Linked DNA regions of Homo sapiens: region 2 is linked to region 1. The links are contacts of gene promoters, found by promoter capture Hi-C in human tissues and cell types (Jung and others, 2019). All regions are on one chromosome and are shown on one strand. The core of a region is centred on a gene start or on the middle of the fragment in contact, and the rest is flanking DNA. Distances in the headings are between cores, read along the strand shown.

What was found. Contacts are between HindIII fragments. The study calls those that stand out against the background at their distance.
Region 2: a contact is called between the fragment with the promoter of USE1 here and the fragment with the promoter of OR10H2 in region 1, in 1 of the 25 tissues and cell types used here (lymphoblastoid cells).

What each region holds. Positions count from the first base shown.
Region 1 is chr19:15,725,894-15,731,652 of GRCh38, reverse strand. It overlaps OR10H2 (olfactory receptor family 10 subfamily H member 2), which reads right to left and starts at 3,629. Exons shown (of 1, transcript NM_013939.2): 1 at 2,601-3,629. The coding sequence starts at 3,609. The coding sequence ends at 2,662. The HindIII fragment of the contact is 21,841 bases long and covers 1-5,759 here.
Region 2 is chr19:17,212,109-17,217,493 of GRCh38, reverse strand. USE1 (unconventional SNARE in the ER 1) reads right to left here and starts at 2,137. Exons shown (of 8, transcript NM_018467.4): 1 at 1,987-2,137; 2 at 1,643-1,692; 3 at 1,424-1,502; 4 at 1,173-1,325; 5 at 32-41. The coding sequence starts at 2,088. MYO9B (myosin IXB) reads right to left here. Exons shown (of 40, transcript NM_004145.4): 40 at 4,208-5,385. The coding sequence ends at 5,184. RefSeq lists a silencer at 1,744-1,813 and enhancers at 1,834-2,153, 1,917-2,497. The HindIII fragment of the contact is 58,541 bases long and covers 1-5,385 here.

The sequences.
Region 1 (5,759 bases), core at 2,380-4,879:
GTATAGAGAAATCTCTTTCTAGAACTCAATCTCCCTCAAAACCTTTGAGAAATTAAAAATAATAAGCAATTTTTGCTGGCACACTTGTCTTTTTACCTGTTACACAGTTTTAGAAATGAAGAGATGATCTATGAAGGGTGCTGGACATAGTATACAGCTCAACATACAGTAGACACTCATACAGTGGCTACCATTATTATTTTACTATTGCTGTGCAACAGCATGGGAAGCAACCTAGTAGCTGGGAATGAAGTGTGTTTACTAATTCAGTATGAATGATGTGTCTGCCTAGGGCCATGTGTGTGTGTGATGATTATTTCCTCATCCTCACAAACTTATATAATCACAGACATAGGTCACTGATGGAAGTTCACAGACAGGATTCATTCAACCACACTGAACCCAGCCAAAACTAAGATTAGGCCCCTACCTCACACCATACACAAAGTTTGACACTCAAAATATATCAAAAACCCAAATGTAAGAGCTAAAACTACAAAACTCTTATGAGGCAACGTAGATGTTCATGACCTTAGATAAAGCAATACAATGTTTTTTTAGATGTGACACCAAAAGCACAAGCAACAACAAAAAAAAATAGGTACACTGATGTTATCAAAATGTAAATCTATTGTGCTACAGAAAGACACCAAAAAGACCATGAAAACACAACCCACAAACTATAAGGAAATAACTGAAAATCACAGATCAGATAAAAGAGTCTTAACTAAAAATATAAAGCATTCTTACAACTTAACAACAAAAATACAAACAACCCAATTGGAAAATGGGTGGAGTATCTCAATAGCTATTTCTCCAAGAACATATCTAAATAGCCAATAAGCACATGATGAGATGTTCAACATCCTTACTCACTAGGGAAATGCAGATCAAAACCACAATGAGATACCACTTCACACCCACGAAGATGGCTGTGATCAAAAAGACAGTAACAAGTATTGGTGAGGTTGCAGAGACCTAGACCCCTGCAGCATTGCTGGTGGGAATGTAAAATGGTGCATAGACTTTAGGAAACAGCTTGGAAGTTCCTAAAAAAATAAACATAGAAATACCACTTGACCCAGCAATTTCACTCCTAGGTATATATCCCAAGGAAATGAAAGCATATATTGCAACACTTGTACTGATCACTCATAGCAGTATTACTCAAAATAGCAAAAATTAGAAACACTGAAATGTCCATCAATGACAAATGGGTAAATAAAATGTAGTGTTTCCATACAATGGAATATTATTTGGCAATCAAAATGATATACTGGCTGGGCACGGTGGTTCATGCCTGAAATCCCAGCACTTTAGGAGGCCGAGGTGGGTGGAGTGTTTGAGGTCAGGTGTTCAAGACCAGCCTGGCCAACATGGTGAAACCCCGTCTCTACTGAAATACAAAAATTAGCCAGGCATGGTGGCAGGCATCTGTAATCCCAGCTATTTGGAAGGCTGAGGCAAGAGAATCACTTGAACCTGGGATGCGAAGGTTGCAGTGAGCCAAGATCATGCCACTGCACTCCAGCCTAGGTGACAGGGTGAGACTCTGTCTTGAAAAAAAAAAAAGATGATGTACTGATACAAGCTACAATGTAGGAGAACTTCAAAAACATTATGCTCAGTGAAACAATTCATCTGAAAATAAAAGAATTATATTTACAGTTGTCCATTGATGTGAAACGTCCAGAAAAAGCAACTCTAACCAGACAGAAAGATTAGTGGCTCCCTAGGGCTGGAGGGCATGGAGATTTGGAGGAAACAGAGAGTGACTGATAATGAGTATGGGTTGTTTGTTTGTTTGAGACAAGGTTTGGCTCTGTTGCCCAAGTCAGAGTTCAGTGGTGATCATGGCTCACTGCAGCCTCGAACTCCTGGATGCAAGCAATCCTCCCACATCAGCCTCTGGAGTAGCTGGGGCTACAGGAATGTGCCACCCCATTTAGCTAATTATCAGAATTTTTGTGTGTGTCAGGAAGGGGAACATCACAGACTGGGGCCTGTTGTGGGGTAGGGGGAGTGGGGAGGGATAGCATTAGGAGATATACCTAATGTTAAATGACAAGTTAATGGGTGCAGCACACCAACATGGCACATGTATATGTATGTAACTAACCTGTACGTAGTGCATATGTACCCTAAAACTTAAAGTGTAATAAATTAAAAAAAAAAGAACTTGTGTGTGTGTATGTGTTTGTGTGTGTGTGTAGATGGCATCTCACTATGTTGTCCAGACCGATCGTGAATTCCTGACATCAAACAATTCTCCCACTCAGCCTTCCAAAGCACTAGGATTTGGGTTTCTTTTTTGGATGACTAAAATACTCTAAGCCAGATTGTCATGATGGTTGCATAACTCTGAATACGCAAAAACCACAGAAATGTGCGCTCTAATGGGTACATTGTATGGTAGGTGAATTACATCTTAATAAAGCTACTATAACTCAAAAATTAAAACTCAGATAAAGACATACAGATCAAGAGTTGTGGAAGTAAACATGCTTTTAACATTTACTGAGCACCTACTATGTGATGAGTGTTGTCATATACAGAAATCTTTACACCTGCCTTACAAGGTAAGCATTACTAGCCACACTGTGCAGACAAGGTGATGGTCATCCTCCTATCATATTCTATCAGCACTTCCACACCAGCTACTCAGGTGCCTGAGGAATAGAGTGTGCTGAGGAAGGTCCTCTTCATGGCAACCTTCAGTTCTTTGTTCCTGAGGCTGAAGATGATGGGGCTGAGGAAGGGCGTGAGGACTGCGTAGGTGGTGGCCATCAGGGTGTCACCCTCCTGAGAGTGGGGACCTTTGGGCTTGAGGTAGATGACAGAGGCAAAGCCATAGTGCACAATGACCACAATAAGGTGAGAGGCACAGGTGGAGAAGGCCTTGTTCCGACCTTCAGCAGAAGGGATCTTCAAGATGTCGGCCACGATGAAGGCATAGGAGAGGAGGATGAGGAGAAAACAGCCCAGCAGTGCCATGATACATACCAAGCCCACGCCCAGGGCCACAGCTGGTACATTATTTCCACAGGCCAACTTCAACAGAGGTGGCACATGACATAAAAAATGCTGGATCTCATGGGATCCACAGAAAGTCAGTTGGAAAATGGCCGAGGTCACCACCATCCCCATGACCGAGCCACCAGCCCAGGAGCAGCCCACCAGGCAGGCGCAGCCCCGTGGGCTCATGAGCACGTTGTAGCGCAGGGGGTGGCAGATGGCCACGTAGCGGTCGTAGCCCATGACGGTGAGCAGGAAGGAGTGGGTGAAGCCGAAGCTGAAGGAGAAGAACATCTGACTGGCACAGGCCAGGAAGGCGATGGAGCGCTGGGTGGACAGCAGGTCGGCCAGCATGCGCGGGATGATGGCCACGGTGTAGAGGATCTCGGAGACTGAGAGGACGCACAGGAAGAGGTACATGGGCGTGTGGAGGCTGCGCTCGCTCCAGACGGTGGCCATGATGAGCAGGTTGCCCAGCAGCGTGAACAGGTACATCAGCAGGAACAGCAGGAAGAGCATCAGTTGGAGGTGGGGGAAGGCAGAGAAGCCGACGAGGATGAATTCAGACATGGAGGTGTGGTTTAGCCCCAGCATGACGGCCACCCCTAGTTGGGGAAGAGAGGAAAGAAGACCCAGTGGTTAGGAGCATGGGGGTGTCTAGTGATTCCTGCCTGGGAGGACATCTGAGAGCGCCTCCTTCATCTGTCCAAGCCATGGTTACTCCATCTGCAGAAAGGCATTAATAATAATGTATTGAGGTTTAAATAAGATCACTCACCTTAAGTGCTTTGTGCAGGTCCTGACACAAAGTAAGAATTTAATAAATTATAAATGTTGATAGTAATAATTATTCTGCTATTGTTATTGCCATCACGATTATTAGATCCATGCACCACCACCTACACCTTGCTTTTCTGCCTTTGTTCATGCTGGTCTTTTCATGCTTTTCCCTATCTTTATGGGTCCAAATCCTACCTGAATTTTATGAGCAAGCTGCTCCCTGATTGCCACCTTCAGCTGGAAGTCATCTCTTCCCTATGTCATGGAAACGTCCAGACTCTGTTTAATTCTCGGCACCACTGCTTTCTAGCTGTGAGATGCAGGGCAGGTTGCTTCCCCTCTCTGAGCCTCATTGCTCCCCTGGAAAATTGAAACCACCTTTGCAAAATTATGACTGAGACAGCGAAAGAGATCTAACTTAACCAACTCCATCTTGCTTCTAACCTCCAAGCTGTCCTTGTTCATTCCAGGACATAGGGTGAACTAACTTTGGGGGAAATTTAGTTTATAGTTTATAGTTTATAGTTTGGAACAAGGACGATAACAGCCCTTTCCCAAAGCAGACCTCCTTCTTGTCTGGGGATTAGATTGCCTTTGTAGAACTAACATTAGCCACAAGATTAGAAATTATGGTTTAGGAGTCATGCAGCTGGAGGCTACAAGATTCTGACCCTCCCTAAATTGCTCCCAAGATCAGTGCTTGAGATATTTTGCAGATCCTGCACTTGATGGATCAGCTGGCACCACCCAGGTCGATAAACTGGCTCAACTGATCTTGTGGCCCCCACCCAGGAACTGACTCTCCGCAAGAAGACAGCTTTGATTTCATCTCTGACCAATCAGCACTGCTGGCTCACTGGCTTCCCCTCCACCCACCAAGTTGTCCTTAAAAACTCTGCTCCCCAAGTGCTCAGGGAGACTGATTTGAGTAATAATAAAACTCCAGTCCCCTGCAGAGCCAGCTCTGTGTGAATTACTCTTTCTCTATCACAATTCCGCTTTTTTTTTTTTTTTTCTTTGAGACAGAGTCTCACTCTGTCCCTGCTGGAATGCAGTGGCATGATCTCGGCTCACTGCAACCTCCGCCTCCTGGGTTCAAGCAATTCTCCTGCCTCCGCCTCCTGAGTAGCTGGGATTACAGGCCCGCATCACCACACCTGGCTAATTTTTGTATTTTTAGTAGAGATGGGGTTTAACCATGTTGCTCGGGCTGGTCTTGAACTTCTGAGTTCAAGTGATCAGCCTGCCTCAGCTTCCCAAAGTGCTGGGATTTATAGGTGTGAGCCACCATGCCCAGTCAAAAACTTCTTAGCAGAAAATGGTTATGGTCCACTGACCTCTAGGCTATGGGCCCAGCATGCTTCCACTACGTGACTCTGCTGGTCTCCTCCTCTTTTTGACCCCAACCCCAATCCTCCAATCCCAAACCTAACAGCAAAAACCTAGGCTATCAGCCATGGCTTCTCTCATCACCTTCCCTGAGTGGCCACAGAGTCAGATCTGCCCAATTTCTCTGCCAGGGCAGCTCTCCTCCCTGCACCAATAGGAGCCCTTCTACTTTATTTAGTTTATGGAAGTTCCCCAACAAACTAAACTAGGAGGCTGTGACTCCTCTCCCACTCTCTTTCTTGCCAGTCTGCAAACAGGCTAGATGCAAAATACAAAAGTTTATGTTACAATGCAAACTGGATCAATGAATGAATGGATAAACAAAATGTGGTCCGACCACACAATGAAATATTATGCAACCACGCAAAGATTGAATCAGTGATACATGCAACAGCGTGGATGCACTTTGAGAACATGAGGCTGAGTGAAGGAAGCCAGACACAAAAGGCCACATAGTATATAATTCCATTTATAAGAAATGTCCAGAATAGTTAAATCCACTGAGAAAGAAAGCAGATGTGTGGTTGTCAGGGAATGGGGCTAGCGTGGGATGGGGAATGACTGATGAATGGATA
Region 2 (5,385 bases), core at 888-3,387, 1.5 Mb before region 1:
CTCAAGTCCTGTTGTGTTCATGGTGACTCACCTGCAGAGTCCTGTGGAAAGAAGTAAGTGGCATGAGGCTGGGTGCAGTGGCTCACTCCCAGCACTTTGGGAGGCCAAGGTGGGCAGATCACCTGAGGTCAGAAGTTCGAGACCAGCCTGGCCAACATAATGAAATTCCATCTCTACTAAAAATACAAAAAGTTAGCCAGGTGTGGTGGGGGTGCCTGTGATCCTAGTGACTTGGGAGGCTGAGGCAGGAGTATTGCTTGAACCTGGGAGGCGGAGGTTGCAGTGAGCCGAGATCGCGCCACCACACTCTAGCCTGGGCAACAAGAGCGAATCTCCATCGCAAAAAAAAAAAAAAAAGTAAATGCCATGAAGTCACCCCCCTTGTCTTGTTCCCAAACCTGTCCCTTCTGACCTCAACCTCCTCACCTTCAGTCAGGACATGGGGAAATCCCATGACCTCTGAGCCTGTTTCCTCAACCTTAAACTGGTAACGACAACTCATATTTTTTTTTTTTGAGACGGAGTTTCACTCTTATTGCCCAGGCTGGAGTGCAATGGCTTGATCTCAGCTCACCGCAACCTCTGCCTCCTGGGTTCAAGCGATTCTCCTGCCTCAGCCTCCCGAGTAGCTGGGATTACAGGCGTGAGCCACCATGCCCAGCTAATTTTGTATTTTTACTAAAGACGGGGTTTCTCCATGTTGGTCAGGCTGGTCTTAACTCCTGACCTCAAATGATCCGCCCGCCTCGGCCTCCCAAAGTGCTGGGATTACAGGCGTGAGCTGCCGCACCTGGCCACAACAACTCATATTTTAAAAGATTGAGCTGATCCACATAAAGTGCTCAGAAAGGAACTTGTCATCCTCTTTTACGGCTGAAGAAACTTATGTGTCTTGTAAGTTGCAAGCCAGGACTCAAACCCTGCTCTTGGGCCAACTCTGGGGCTTAACCAGACACATTCCATTTTTGCCTTGTACCAAATTCCTATTCATCTAGCAAAGCCTTAGCCACAATGCCCCTCTGTTGGGCAGCCTTGTGTGATGACCCAGGGAAGAGATTGCTGGACCCCCTTAGGGTTCCTGTATCTGACAGTATTGTGGTTCTGGCTGCCTACAAGCATAGAACCCCTATTCCTGTCCAAGGGATTCCCAGGGACCAGGGAAGGAGCCCTACCGTGCCTAGTAGCTCACTCCGCATCTCGCTGGTGTACCGCGCCCGTGACTGCAGATGCACCGTCTTTGTGGCGGGCACTCGCTCTCTGGCTGTGGTTGGCACACGGCCAGGGGCCAGGAACTGGTTGGCCAGTGCTTTCTCTGAGGAGGAGGTCTGCAGAAATGTGGGAAGATAAGTCACTGGAGGGGCAGGTCCTGGGGACCAAAGTGAGCGGTGATGGGGGCTGAGGGGGCAGGGGCACCCCTTCTCACCAGCTTCTCGGCTTGCAGCATCCCCTTCAGAAAATCCACCTTCCAGGAATATTCATTGATCACCTCAGAGGCCGGTTTGCTGGAAGGCAGGAAGAAGAAAAACAAAACCTGTCCATGGTCCCCAGCTCAGGGAAGGGTCCCAGCTGGGATAGCGGTACTGGGATGTCCAGTAGCACAGCCACGTGCTGATGTGAAAGCCCTGAGGCTGCCTGCACTCACCTCGCGTGGACCTTCAGGGCCTGCAACATGTCCTCTAGGGCTCCCACGTACTGGGGAGGAAAAGTGGATTGTCACCCGGGGGTCTTTCCCATGTCCTGATCATGGGAGTCGGGGGGGCGGGGCCGACAAATGGGAGGGGTCAAGCGTAAAGGAGGCGGGGCCAGTGGGGGAGGGGCGGAGTCCCAGGGACGGGGGCGGAAGCTACAGGTGGACGTGGCGGGACTGACCGGAAAGGGCGCTGCCCGAGAGGCTACTGGGGCCGGGGAGTCGGGCCAGGTGGCTTCCAACCCTAGGAATCACCCCCCGGGAGTCGGGCTCTACGCGGCAGTGCGAGATCCCCTCACCTTCTCCAGGCGCCACTCGTCCGGGTCCCGTTTCTCCGCTGCCATCGCCTCGCAGCGGGATAGCAGCCGCACCAGGTTTAGCTCCAGCCTCGACGCCGCCATTATCGCCCGGCCCTACACCACCCCTTCCGCCGGCTCCATGTTAAGAGAGGGCGGAAGTGCCTTCAAGTGGCCTTCCGGGCGGATGTTTCCCCCGCGCTCGTTAGCTGGCCCATCTTTGTTTGGAGCGGAAGTAATATCTTGTTTTGAGACGGGGCGCTGGGCCGGGCGCGGTGGCTCAGGGCTGTAATGCCAGCATTTTAGGAGGCAGAGGTGGGAAAGGATTGCTTGAGGCCAGCCCGGGCAAGATAGCGCTACTCTATCTCTATTTTAAAAAAATAGGAGAGGCGCCACCCCATTCTTACTTAGGCGAATCACTTGCTTTTCCTCGAGAGCATGTTAACCCTTCGGGAATGATAGGACGACCGGGGTCTTCTGGTGTCAGACCCGCGTGCAGTGTGCCCTTTTGTTCTGTTTTGCCTGCTCAAAGTACCTCCCCGCACCCCACTCCTACCTGGATTCTTCCCAGTCGGAGCTATTTCACGTCCACACACCCTTCCCGATTTCTGTAGCCTGGGATTCAGGAATCCAAGGCTTCCCCCACCTCAGCAGGGCTCATCTGTATTGTGGTTATGGGTTTCCAGGTCACAGCTCCAGCTCTGATTCCATCCTCGGCCCTGGGAGAGTTTAACTTTTCTGGATCCGCTTCTTCCCCCGGGAAATGGACAGTGTGACAGTACCTGCCTCAAGGGGCACATGAGACAGCTCTGCCTGAGAGTGAGCAAGGTGGGGCTGGGTCCCCCCTAACGCCCAGACCCCCATGGAGAACCCCTTCCCAGCCCACCTCAGTACCTGGAAGCTGAGTACCCCTATGCCTTGCAGTGCCTCTCTTCTGGAGTGACAGGATGAGGGTGGGGGCTTCACAGGAACCAGGGCCTGGCATGCAGCCTTCATGTTTTCCCACACCTTAGGTCATCTGCACCTTGGTTACACCAGTGGGCCTGATGTCCTTGAAAAATATCATAGACGGGTAGGTGCGGTGGCTCACACCTGTAATCCCAGCACTTAGGGAGGCTGAGGCAGATGGATCACCTGAGGTCAGGAGTTTGAGACCAGCCTGGCCAACATGGTGAAACCCCGTCTCTACTAAAAATACAAAAATTAGCCGGGCGTGATGGTGGGTGCCTGTAATCCCAGCTACTTGGGAGACTGAGGCAGGAGAATCGCTTGAACCCAGGAGGTGGATGTTGCAGTGAGCCGAGATTGTGCCACTGCACTCCAGCTTGGGCAACAAAGCAAGACTCCGTCTCAAAAAAAAAAAAAAAAAAAGAAAATACCATGGAGGGCCAGGTGCGGTGGCTCACGCCTGTAATCCCAGCACTTTGGGAGGGTGAGGTGGATGGATCACTGGAGGTCAGGAGTTTGGAGAGCAGCCTGGCCAACATGGTGAAACCCTGTCTCTATCAAAAAACACAAAAATTAGCTGGGCTTGGTTGTGCGTGCCTGTAATCCCAGCTACTCGGGAGGCTGAGGCAGGAGAATCGCTTGAACCCGAGAGGTGGAGGCTGCAGTGGGCCGAGATCGCGCCACTGCACTCCAGCCTGGGTGACAGAGCGAGACCGTGTTTCAAGAAAAAAACCCACAACAAACAATGGAGACCAAACCCAGGGCCCATCAAAGGGGCCTCTAGAGGCTGGCAGGGCAGAGTCTAAATCCCAGCCATGCCCCTCCCAACTGTGTGGCCTTGGAGAAGCCCCTCAACCTCTGGCATGTGCTGTCTGAACTTGGGTTCTTCACGGTGCCCCAACCAATACCAGCCAGCCAGTTCCCACGACTCCCATCCGATGGCAGCCTGGGAGCCCATCTGTTCCTGTCCTGCTGGGCCCACCAGGAACTGGCCACCTCTGCTGGATGGGTGGCTGCTGCAGCTGACATTTAGGCTCCAGAGGCTGGGCACTGAATCAGGGAGGCCAGAGAGGGCTGCCAGGACAGCAGGCGCTCCTGGCCAAGTGAGGCTCTGCTGGGAGCTCCCTGTTTGGTGGAGGATCAAGACAGAACTTTGAGGACAGTGTTCCACCCATATTCTGCACCCTTCTTGGCTGAGGCCACAGGGCAGACCCCCACCCACCGGCCCTGTTCTTCCAAGCCCGATCCCATATGAGCAGGCGTCCCATGCACACACTTCTCAGGCACTTTTTATTTCATGCTGTGCGGGGGCCCCTTGTCCCAGATTTGTGGCCACGTGTCCAGGTGTCTGGGGGAGTGGGCCAAGCCTGAGAGAGGAGGGCCCTGCTCCAGAGATCCCCAGGTTGTCCCTGTTGACCTATAGGGAGGTCTGACTTCAGGCGTTGCCCTCCTGACCCGTGAGCAGTCCTGAGTCGCTGGCTCCTATTCTGTCACACGGGGTGGGTAGTGCCAAAAGCAGCCTCCTGCAGCCCTTGGCGTCCGGAAGAGTGACAGCCACATTCAAGTCTCCCTGGCACGTGAGGTCCATGGTGCCCCTGACTCATGTCCTGGCTCCAGCCAATAGCCCAGACCCCCATGGAAGGTTCCAGCATGTGCAAAAATGCACATTGGCCAGGTGGCTGCCCCCCGGAGACATGTGTCAGAGAGGCACGGGTCAGGTGACCCAAGTGTCCAAAACTCTCATGGAGGGTCCCAGCCCATTGGCCACCCCAAGCCAACCACAGCAGGGTCTGAGCCTCAGACGCGCAGTGGCCTAGTGGCTTCTGCTCTGACAGCTCACGTCCAGGTTATAAGGGAGACGGGCAGCGTTAATAGAAAACTTTGTACATACACATATAAAAAACCATTTGGTCTTCCATTAAGGCTGTTACAGTTTAAAGTTACGTAAACCACGTACAAAGAAACAGTTAAACGTACAAAAAGGGGAGTGGGGAGATGTGAGGCCGCAGGTGGAGATGTGGTGCTCCCCACAGGTGCGTCCATGATTTGGGGGCTGCGTGCGAGGGGGCCTGGCTCCAGCCGGCCTCTCCCTGCCTTGACTCTGCACTTGGGGCCGGTGCCCACCTCACGTCACTCTTGAGCTTTTGATTCTGGATCCTTCTCTGAGGGCCGAACACTAGCTCTGCAGCTCTGGCGCCCAGCTCCAGTGCAGGGGCCGTCCTCGGACATGCAGACTTTGTCAGCTGTGGCTCTCAGCCATTGGTCTGGCCCGAGGCGGGGGGCAGGCAGTACGTTGGGGGATCCGAGTACCTCCGCTTGGCCCCAGGTGGCTGGCCATCCTCTTCTAGGGGCTCCAGGGCGCCCTGCACTGGCAGGTCTGCCCCGGGCGTGATGTACACGGAATGTATCTGGTCCGGGCGGCGGGCAGGTGGCTCCCGGCGCCGCACTGGGGCA